Linked DNA regions of Homo sapiens: all the other regions are linked to region 1. The links are contacts of gene promoters, found by promoter capture Hi-C in blood cells and fetal thymus (Javierre and others, 2016). All regions are on one chromosome and are shown on one strand. The core of a region is centred on a gene start or on the middle of the fragment in contact, and the rest is flanking DNA. Distances in the headings are between cores, read along the strand shown.

The links. The method cuts DNA at HindIII sites, captures the fragments that hold promoters and counts their contacts. A CHiCAGO score of 5 or more calls a contact.
Region 2: a fragment that was not itself captured here is called in contact with the fragment with the promoter of TTC9B in region 1 in 1 of 17 cell types (neutrophils); the score reaches 5.8 in neutrophils.
Region 3: a fragment that was not itself captured here is called in contact with the fragment with the promoter of TTC9B in region 1 in 1 of 17 cell types (neutrophils); the score reaches 5.9 in neutrophils.

What each region holds. Positions count from the first base shown.
Region 1 is chr19:40,216,831-40,220,272 of GRCh38, reverse strand. TTC9B (tetratricopeptide repeat domain 9B) reads left to right here and starts at 1,889. Exons shown (of 3, transcript NM_152479.6): 1 at 1,889-2,318; 2 at 2,904-3,086. The coding sequence starts at 1,892. RefSeq lists enhancers at 1-852, 2,431-3,021. The HindIII fragment of the contact is 9,686 bases long and covers 1,506-3,442 here.
Region 2 is chr19:39,785,689-39,789,130 of GRCh38, reverse strand. It overlaps LEUTX (leucine twenty homeobox), which reads right to left. Exons shown (of 3, transcript NM_001382345.1): 3 at 2,840-3,433. The coding sequence ends at 2,996. Among named protein-coding and RNA genes, the nearest start is that of LEUTX, 8.6 kb to the right of the region's middle. The HindIII fragment of the contact is 1,047 bases long and covers 1,001-2,047 here.
Region 3 is chr19:39,810,767-39,814,208 of GRCh38, reverse strand. No RefSeq gene overlaps it. Among named protein-coding and RNA genes, the nearest start is that of MIR6719, 17 kb to the left of the region's middle. The HindIII fragment of the contact is 7,090 bases long and covers 1-3,442 here.

The sequences.
Region 1 (3,442 bases), core at 640-3,139:
ATGCTCTGGTTGAGATGGAAGGTGCTGAGTTCTGGTTTCTGTCTGTCACATGTGACCTGCCATGGGACCTCCAGCTAGAGGATGTGCTGTGGGGGTGGAGTTGGGGAGAGTGGGGAGGCCTGGGGCTGAGACCCAAGCTAGAGTCTCAGAGGAGGGGGAGGAGTAGTAATGCATAATGCCATTCACTCACACACTCATTCATTCAACAACTATATATGGATGCTGACTCAGAGCCAGGCACTCATGATCACATGACTCAGAGTCTAATGGACGATAAGAAACACCAGTTGTTAATTGCCCATTAATGTATGAAGCCCTGTGCTAAGTGCCTTACCTGCATAAGATAATTCAGTCTCTGCAACCGCTCTGAGGTTAACTTGCCTTCTATCCTCATGTCGCACAGACGAAGCCGAAGGAGGAGGATCGAGGAACTTGGCCCAGGTCCCACAGCTAAGGAGGCGGCAAAGGAGGACTGAAGGGCAGTTGACTCATTCATCCTCGATTTTTTTCTTGAAAGCCTCCTGCATGCTTCCTTTCCTGGGGACTTGTTTGCCCTCTCACTTGTTTTCCCCCATAGACAGCCGAGCTGGATGAGGGCAAGAAGGAGATCTCTCTTGTTTTTAGAGTTATTCCCTCCTCCAGGAAGACTTTATCACCACCTCAGCCCAGGGCAGGTACCTCCCACATCCCAGCCCCGACCCCTCTGCCTGTGCCTCTTCCACCTCGGCCCCGACCCCTCTGCCTGTGCTTCCCAGGCTAGCCTGCTCAGGGCTGTCACTGTCTGGTCACTGGTCTGTCTTCCCACTGAACTGGGGCCCAGTGAGAGTAGGGTCTGAAGCTCACGCAGTGTCTGCTATGTCCCAGCATCATCCAGCACAGAGCTGGGCACAGAAAGGATGTCAGTGAATATTTGTTTCATAAATTAACAGATGAATCCCAAAGGTGGTATTATTTTTAATTCCTTTCCTTTCCTTTTTTCTCTTTCCTCTTTCCCCTTTCCCCTTTCCTTTCCTTTCCTTTCCTTTCCTTTCCTTTCCTTTCCTTTCCTTTCCTTTCCTTTCCTTTCCTTTTTTGAGACGGCATCTCCCTCTGTCACCCAGGCTGGAGTGCAGTGGCACAATCTCGGCTCACTGCAACCTCTGCCTCCCAGGTTCAAGTGATTCTCCTGCCTCAGTCTCCCGAGTAGCTGGGACTACAGGTGCACGCCACCACACCAGGCTAATTTTTGTGTATATATACAAAAATTTTGTATATATTGTATATTAGTAGAGACGGAGTTTTGCCATATTGGCCAGGCTGGTCTCAAACTTCTGACCTCAAGCGATCCATCCACCTCGACCTCCCAAAGTGCTGGGATTACAGGCGTGAGCCACCTCGACTGGCCCTAAAGGTGATATTATTGTGCCATGTTACTGATGAGGATACAGAGTTCCAGGTAGTTTAAGCGAGCTGTCTAAGTCATACCACTAGTGAGAAAGTAAGCAGGGATTTGAATTTGGGAAGCTTGGGTCCAAATCCTGTGTTCTCATTCGATATGCCAAATGGCCAGTGGGCTGAGAGCCAGCTTTCCGTGAGGCTGATGTCTTCCTGCTCTTTCCCCCAGGCTCGTCCTTTCCTTCTAGAAATCTTCGGGAGCTTTGGGCACCGGGGAGGAGAGCAGGCAGGAGGTTGGGGAGGGTAAGGGGAATGGGAACAATTCGGGGGGCGGGCTGGAGAACTAGGACTTGGTTAATTTGAGAGTGAGCATGGGGGAAGTCTCGAGGGGTTTCCCTAGACCCATAGGGGGCAGCCGGAGTCGGCTGCCGGAGGTGAGGGGGCGGAGAAAGGGTGGGGACCAGCCCCGCGGGGGGCGATGCGGTAGCTGCAGCGGCGGCGGCAGGAGTTTCCCACAATGCAGCGCGGCGCGCTGTCCCCGGTGCTGATGCTCAGCGCTGCCCCGGAGCCTCCGCCGCGCCCGCCTCCCGCCCTCTCCCCACCGGGCTCGGGCCCAGGCTCGGGCTCCCGCCATGGCTCGGCTCGTCCCGGTCCTACCCCAGAGCCGTCGGGGAGCCTGGGCGCGGCGCTCGACAGCAGCCTGCGTGCCGCCGTGGCGTTCAAGGCAGAGGGCCAGCGCTGCTATCGAGAGAAGAAGTTCCGGGAGGCCATCGGCAAGTACCACCGAGCGCTGCTGCAGCTGAAGGCGGCGCAGGGGGCCCGCCCTAGCGGCCTGCCCGCCCCCGCCCCCGGGCCCACCAGCAGCCCCGGGCCGGCGCGCCTCAGCGAGGAGCAGCGGCGCCTGGTGGAGAGCACGGAGGTGGAGTGTTACGACTCCCTCACGGGTACGCCGTCGGGGGGTGGGGGGATGGGGCACGAGGGGAGGGGGCAATCGGGAGAGCTTGGCGACTTGGGGGCCAGGGGCCCTGGGGCTGAAGGGTCCAGGGCTGTGGGCTTCTGGGGGAGCCTTCAGAGCTTGATCAAGGAAAGGGATTAGGGGTAGGGGATGACAGGGGTCTGTGGCTGGAGGGAGCTGGGATGCAGGAAATGGTCTTTGGGTCGGGTATTCAGGGCCTCGCTTCCCCTGAGTCATTCTTTCCACCCCCTGGCCGCACGTGGACCCAAGGTGAGGAAGTCTGCCCTGAGCCAGGCTCTCGAGGTCCCGGCCCTCGCCCCCGCGCGGGGCCTTAGTGCTCTTGCCCACCGACAGCTCTGGGTGGATCGCCCAGTGGCGCCTGTCCGTGTTTTGGCGCCCCCTAGCAGCGGCGCAGTTGCGCCTGTTTCGATAGGCGAGCGGATTGGCGCCCCTGGTTGCCGGAGCAATCCCTTAGGCCTGGTTCCCTGCCGCCTGGAGCCTCGGCTCCTCGCAGTCAGGTGGGTTCTGGGGGTGCCAGCAGGCTCTGAGAGTGCCGGCCGCGGGGCCCTCGCAGCTTGCCTGCTGCAGTCGGAGCTGGTAAACTACGAGCGCGTGCGCGAGTACTGTCTCAAGGTACTGGAGAAGCAGCAGGGCAACTTCAAGGCCACCTACCGTGCCGGCATTGCCTTCTACCACCTGGGCGACTACGCACGCGCGCTGCGCTACCTGCAGGAGGCCCGCAGCCGGGAACCCACAGGTGAGTGGCGGGGCGGGGCAGAGGTGAGGGCTGGGCCCAGGGCGGGGAAAGGGGCTGCAGCGGAGGGAACAGGCAGGAAGATCAGGGCAGAATAGCAGAGCCCTCCTCCCGCGGAGCTGCTTCTAGGTAGGGCTGCGCCACCCACCTACTCCCTACACGCCCACTCATCCATTCATCCACCCCGCCCTTCACCCGCCATTCAAACATCCGTCCACCTATCGCTCCTCTGACATCTCCCCGGCCATTTCTCATCTACCGTCATTGCCACATCTGATATCTCCTATTCACCTGCTCAGTCACTTCCCTATCCACCCACTGTCATCTCCATTACCCCGTCCCACCCCTGCCTACCGCAC
Region 2 (3,442 bases), core at 275-2,774, 430 kb after region 1:
GTAAGGTGTCAGATCCACCTTTTAGGATTCCACATGTGTATGAGATCATGTGGTATTTGTCTTTCTGTGTTTGGTTTATTTCATTTAACATAATGTCCTTTAGGCTCATCTATGTTGCAAATGACAGGATTTCATTTTTTTAAATTATTTTTTAATGGCCAAATAGTACTCCATTGTGTATAAATCACACTTTTTGTTGTTGTTTTTAGATGGAGTCTCGCTCTGTTGCCAGGCTGGAGTGCAGTGGCGTGATCTCGGCTCACTGCAACCTCCGCCTCCTTGGTTCAAGCAATTATCCTGCCTCAGCCTCCCAAGTAGTTGGGACTACAGGTGTGCACCACCACACCCAGCTAATTTTTGTATTTTTAGTAGAGACCAGGTTTCACCATGTTGGCCAGGCTGGTCTTGAACTCTTGACCTCAGGTGCTCCACCCTCCTCGGCCTCCCAAAGTGCTGAGATTACAGGCGTGAGCCACTGTGCCTGGCCTATTATTTTATTAAATACTTTCTTACCCTTTTCTCTCTCTTTGCCTTCTGGGACCCCAGTAATTTGAAAATTTGGTTGCTTTATGGTATCATATGTCATGAAGGCTTTTATCATTCTTTTTAAATTCTTTTTTATTTTTGTCTTCCTGGGTTATTTCAAAAGATATGGCTTCAAGTTCTGAAATTCTTTTTTCTACTTGATTTAGTCTGTTGTTGAAGCTTTCAAATATATTTTGTATTTCATTCAATGAAGTCTTCATTTCCAGAATTTGTTTGGTTCTTTTTTATATCTATCTCTTTGGTAAATTTCTCATTCATATCCTGAATTGTTTTTCTGATTTGTTTGTATTATTTTTCTGAGTTCTTTTGTATCTCACTGAGCTTCTTTAATATCATTATTTTGAATTCTTTATCCAGGTATAGTCTCTGTATGATTTATTTGGCTGTAAGCAACATCAGTAGTGTTATTTCCTCCGTGGCTTAAGGTGCAGTTGTTGGTGGAGGCTGTGAAGCTTTTCTGGGATAGGGGATGTCAGGTGGGCCGGTTTTCGGGCCCAGTGGTGGCAGTGGTGAGCCTGTCCTTGAGTCCCAGGGTGGTGTACGCTGGCACAGGTTTAGCAGGTTTAGGTAGGCCAATTCCCAGGCTTCCAGGTGGCTTTCTTGGGTGCTGGCATTGCCAGCCGTAGGCCAGGTAGGTGCGTAGTTCCTGGGGCCACTGGGCAGCAAGGGTGGCATGGGCAATGGCAGTAATATTGGCAGGACAATCTAGCTCCCAATCAGCTTGTGCTAGTGTTGGTGATGGCTGTGACGGGCTGAGCAGGCCAGTCTCCAGGCCTGTAAGTGGCACATGCAAGTAGATGCCACCTGAGGTGGTAGTGGCCAGCTAGGTGTGTTCAGCCTCAGGTCCCTGGGACTATTCTCATCTCCTGGAAATGCTTGTGCATCAGTTTAAAATCACCTCTTTGCTGTGATCTAGGGAGACTAGTGAATGTCAAATCCCTTCAGTTCCCAGAGATAGGTGATTTAGGATGCCGTGGAAGCTGCAAAAATTTGGGTGCTCACTGCATGGAAAAACTCCTTCCAGGGAGAGTCTGTAGACTTACCACTAGAGCAAGCAAGGGCAAAAGGCTTGGACAGTGTCTGAACTCCCATTCAGGCTCCCAAGGATCCAGCATTTGTCTGCCCTGTTGACTTCCAGATACAGGCTGGTTAAAAGCATGACTATCAAGCAGCAGCTGGAAGAGTGTGCTGGCAAATCCTTTTTGAGGAGTAACTGGGAGCTGTACATTTTGACCCCTTCTCTGCACTGCTCTGGTTGGGGGAGTGTGGTGGAGGAAGGCTAGCCCTGAAGTGCTTGTGTGCCTGCTTAAAACCACCTTTTTCTCTGTGAGCTAGGGAGACTCACATATGCCTAATCCCTTCCATTTCCAGAGCTAGGGGATTTAGGATGCAGTCCCTTGAGTGCAGGTATAAAAGTTGGGGTGCTCAATGTGTGGACAAACTTCTTCCAGGAGGAATTGATAGACCTGGATTTATTGCTGGGCTGAGCTGGGGTGAAGCTTTGGGTGGCACCTAGCTTCTGTTCAGGCTCTTGTAAGTCTGTAGTTTACCTACCTAGTCAACTCCCTGATGCAGGCTCGTTAGGAACTTAACCATCAACTGTTAGGGTGCTATATGTGTGGTTCACTGCTTCTCTCCTGGGGGAGAAGCTGGGAACTGGGGATTCCTTCCTGATTGTATGGCTCAGTGCCCAGGGTGGGTTTAGTGTTTCTGAGTGCTTCAGCTTTTGCTGCCTGTTTGATAAGACATTTTTTTTCTTGTCTTTTCTTCCTTTTCTTTTTTTTTTTTTTTGAGATGGAGTCTTACTCTGTCGCCCAGGCTGGAGTGCAGTGGTGCAATCTTGGCTCACGCAACCTCCGCCTCCCGGGTTCAAGCAATTCTCTTGCCTCAGCCTCCCAAGCAGCTGGGACTACAGGTGCCCACCACCACACCCAGCTAATTTTTTGTATTTTTAGTAGAGACAGCGTTTCACCATGTTAGCCGGGATGGTCTTGATCTCCTGACCTCGTGATCCACCCACCTTGGCCTCCCAAAGTGCTGGAATTACAGGCGTGAGCCACCGCGACTGGCCTGCTAAGACATTTTCTTAGTTGCCTGGTGTGTAGGAGTCTCTCCACTCACTTCTGACTTTCTTCCAGAGAGAACTGATGTAGGCACAGACGTTTATTCAGTCCATCAATCAGGAACCTCCTATGTCACTGTGTTCCTGGCGTCACTTCTCTGAATACAATCTTTAATGCTGAAATTTGGGTGAGGAGGCACTCAAATGGAGTTCAGAAAATGCAGGCAATGATGAAAGGTAGGGGAGTTCCTTTATTGTTTTTTCTACAGAAAAAGATAAATTCCCAGCCCCTGATCTACTTAGACTGGGGTCAAACCATTAAAGATGTGTGGAAATATGTCTCAGTGGGTCAGATCCAGACCTCCCCTAGAAGTGATGTGTAAGAAGTTACACTGAAGATTGGAGCTGGTCATACTCAAGGCATACTGGAAAAAGATATTGATTTAGGCTGCTGGTGTCATCTTCCCCTGGCAAGTCATAGATCTTTACAAATTCATCTATTTCAAAGAGAGTGGAGGCCCAAGGAGGATTTGAAGCCCCCAGACATATCTGTTCAATGTCATATGACTGAGAATCCCAGGATGAAACCCTCGCAGAGGCGCTGGCTCCTCCAGGATTCTTGATACCAGAAGGCTCACGTAGATCATGGTCATTTGCATCAGAGATTCCAGGACTTACTGGACGAATGTTTGCAGTAGTTATGGCTGAGGGAGTCTCCTCCTTCTTCACTGAAGTTGTCTGGTTTGCTGGCCCTAGTGATGGCCGTGTCTGCATTTGCTGCCGCTGCTGCCTCTTCCATTTGGCACGCTGGTTCTTGAACCAGATCTAAGGAGG
Region 3 (3,442 bases), core at 640-3,139, 410 kb after region 1:
ACACCTGGCTAATTTTTTTGTATTTTTAGTAGAGACAGTTTCACTATGTTGGCCAGACTAGTCTTGAACTCCTGACCTCATGATCCGCCTGCCTCAGCCTCCCAAAGTGCTGGGATTACAGTTGTGAGCCACCGTGCCCGGCCTCAGTTATTTTTAAAGCAAATCTAGATATGTTTTGTTAAGGGATTTTTAAATTTTCCTAAAAAAAGATAACCTGCAATTTCTTGCCCCAAGTCATTCCCTACTGACAAATTGCCCATCTTCCTGATTCTCTGATCCCCTCCTTTCTCCTCATTTTCCAAATTCAGACAAGTCTGTGCATGGGGTGATATCACCGCACCAGCTCTGTCCCTGGCTCATTTTCTGTAACCCTATACTCCAGGCGTTTCTCCACATTTCTCTGAAGCCTGAAAACGATCCTTCTTAATGACCATGAATGGGCTGGAGTTGCTTGGCAATCCTGTCCTCTGCAATAGGACATTTAATCTGCTTGTGGCCTTTCGCCATGGTGGTGGCCTCTTCCCTTATTTGGGTTATTTTTCTGGATCCCTTTCCACTCAAATCGGGTCAGACCTTCCCTGACACTCCTTGTACACTGCAAATTCACATTAAGCATATTATGTTTCACATAGTCCAAATGAAACAGTGATTTGGCTACTCATTTATTAACTGTCTGGGAGTTCCAGCAGGGTCAGAATCAGGTCTGTCTGTACCGTCGGTGAGTCCTCAACATCACCCAGCACAGGGCCTGGCACTCAGTAGGTGCTCAGTAACCATGCGCTGAATGAATGAGTAAATGAAGGAGTGAATGAATGATTGCCAACCTCAATAGCTGGACATTTATCATGAGGGCAGTAGGAAGCCACAGAAGTATTTTAGGCAGAACTGGACCCATTTCTCTCAAACTCTGATGTGCATCTGGGATTTTGAATGTAGATTCCGCTTCGGTGGGTTGAGGAAGGGGCCTGAGATTCTGCATTTCAAGCTCCCAAATGATGCCAAGGCTTTGAGTAGCAAAGGTGTTGCCCTGCTCTTCAGTACAGTACAGGAGCCACTGGCCACATGTGGCTCCTGGGCACTTGAAATGTGGCTCGTGTGACTTGAGATATATTTTAAGCATAAATACCCACCAGAGTTAAAGACTTGGTACAAAAAAAATGTTTTATATTGATCACATACTGATATGGTAATATTTTGGATATATTGAGTTAAATAAAATATATTATTAAAATTACAATTAATTTTATGGTTTTTTTAATTGGGCTATTAGAAAATGTTTAATTAGCTTTGCAGCTCACATGTATGGCTCGTGTTACTCTTCTGTTGGATCATGCTGGTCTAGAACACTCCCGACTCCCTGTCACCTGTGGGCATTTGTACGTGCTTCTCCCTCTTTTTGGAGCACCCTTCTTTCACCCACCTCCCCACAACTAATTCCATACACTGTTCAGGTCTCAGTAAAGGTGTCTCCTTTAGGAAGCCCCCTTGGTCCCCCAGGGTGGGTGGGGGGCCCGTTCTGAGCTTCCACAGCTCCTGGGGTTTCTCCCATCCCAGCCTTGACCCATCTGTCTGCCTCTCCCCTGTCCCACCTTGACCAGCTGTGATGTCAGCATCTCTGCGTCTGTCTCATCTTTGGACAATAAATCCATGAGCATGGGGGCAGAGTCTATCTTGGTTGCCACATTATCTGCAGAGCCTGGCACACAGTCAGTGAATATACTGCATTAATAAATGACACGTGAGATGTGGGTCGTGCACATTTCACAACTGGACTGTGAAGCCAGCCTCAGAGGCCTCATTTTGATGGCCCAGCCACCAGCACAGCATCTCCTGCTGCTTCGACTCCTGCTGGGCGTGCAGTAGCCATGCCATGGATCACATCTGCCTTCTGTAGAATTGCTCTGCCCACCTGTCTCTGAGCTACCCTGTAGCTCCTCTCAGGATTTGCCCTTTACCAATGGCACATTCCTGAACGGGGGCTTGGTCTTTTCTTTGTTAAGTTATATCAGTTTTGGGTACAACATAGATTGTGATAAAGAGATTTTTTTTTTCTCCAGAGATTTCTTTTATTTAAATTGCATAGAAACATTGCTTTAAATAAAGTAATTTTAAAAATAGTCTGTCGGTCTTTTCCTTTGAGATTCTTTGGTTGCTTCAGTAGTTTTGTAATTGACATGAAAAGATGTTCCAACTCATCCCTAATCAGAGCAAGACAAAGATCAGGAAACTGAAATCCACTTCCTCTCCTTCCAGCTTGCTTGTTCAAGTACCACCTCTGCTTCCAGCGCAACCTCCAGGCCACGTTCCCACACTCTCCCTGTCCATCATGGCTCTCCTTTTTCCATCCCACCCTGCCCACTGTCCCCTACCAATTATAGATTCATCATTACAGTCACCCTCTAAATTCCCTTCCTCCTCAATCGTTTGGTCCCAGCCATCTGACTAAAAGCCAGCCCCTAATTATATGGAACATCTAAAGAAAAAAAGGCCACACTAAAATTCTGTTTCACAGCCTCAAATTGACAAAAGTTAAGATGGCTGTAGGTGAGGATGGGGATTCACAGGACATCTCATATGTTGCTGATGGGAGTTCAAATTAGTACAACCCTCTGGGAAGTAGTTTGTTGTTATTTTGAAAAACTGAACCAAATTGAAAATCTGAATCCCATATGCTTGGCACTCCTAGGTCCTTACCCAAGAAGAGATATTTGACCACATGCATCGATTGAGATGTTAAAGTTCATAGTATCTCTTCTCAGCCTTTGGCTAAGATCAAGTATACAAAGTTCATCTGTCAACTTTTGTATGCTTTTGTAAAGCATTTATCTGATAGCAAAAAGAAACACATCTGATGTCCATTTAAAGGAGAATTGATAAATTTTAGTATATCTCACATGACGGACAATTACACAGCAGTGAAAATGAAGGAACAACAGATGTACAAGAAAAAGATGAATTTAGGCTGGGCATGGTGGCTCCTGCTTGTAATCCCAGCACTTTGGGAGGCTGAGACGGGAGGATTGCTTGAGGCCAGAAGTTCAAGACCAGCCTGGGGAACATGGTGAAACCCTATTTCTACAAAAAATGCAAAAATTAGCTGGGCTCAGTGGCGTGTGCTTGTAGCTCCAACTACTCGGGAGGCTGAAGTGGGAGGGTCGCTTGAGGCCTGGAGGTCGAGGATGCAGTGAGCTATGATCCTGGACACTGCACTCCAGCCTGGGCAAGAGGGTGAGAGTCTGTCTCAAAAAAAAAAAAAAAAGAAAAAAAAAAAAGAATTACAGAAACATAATGTGAATAAAACAAAAGACTCCATATAGGATGATACTATTTATAAAGCTCAAAGCCAAGCAAAAGGAAACATTTTTAAGCATACAAAAATATGTGATAAAACTGTATCTTAAAATCACAAGGGATGAGGGAAACTTTTGGGATTTATTGCATT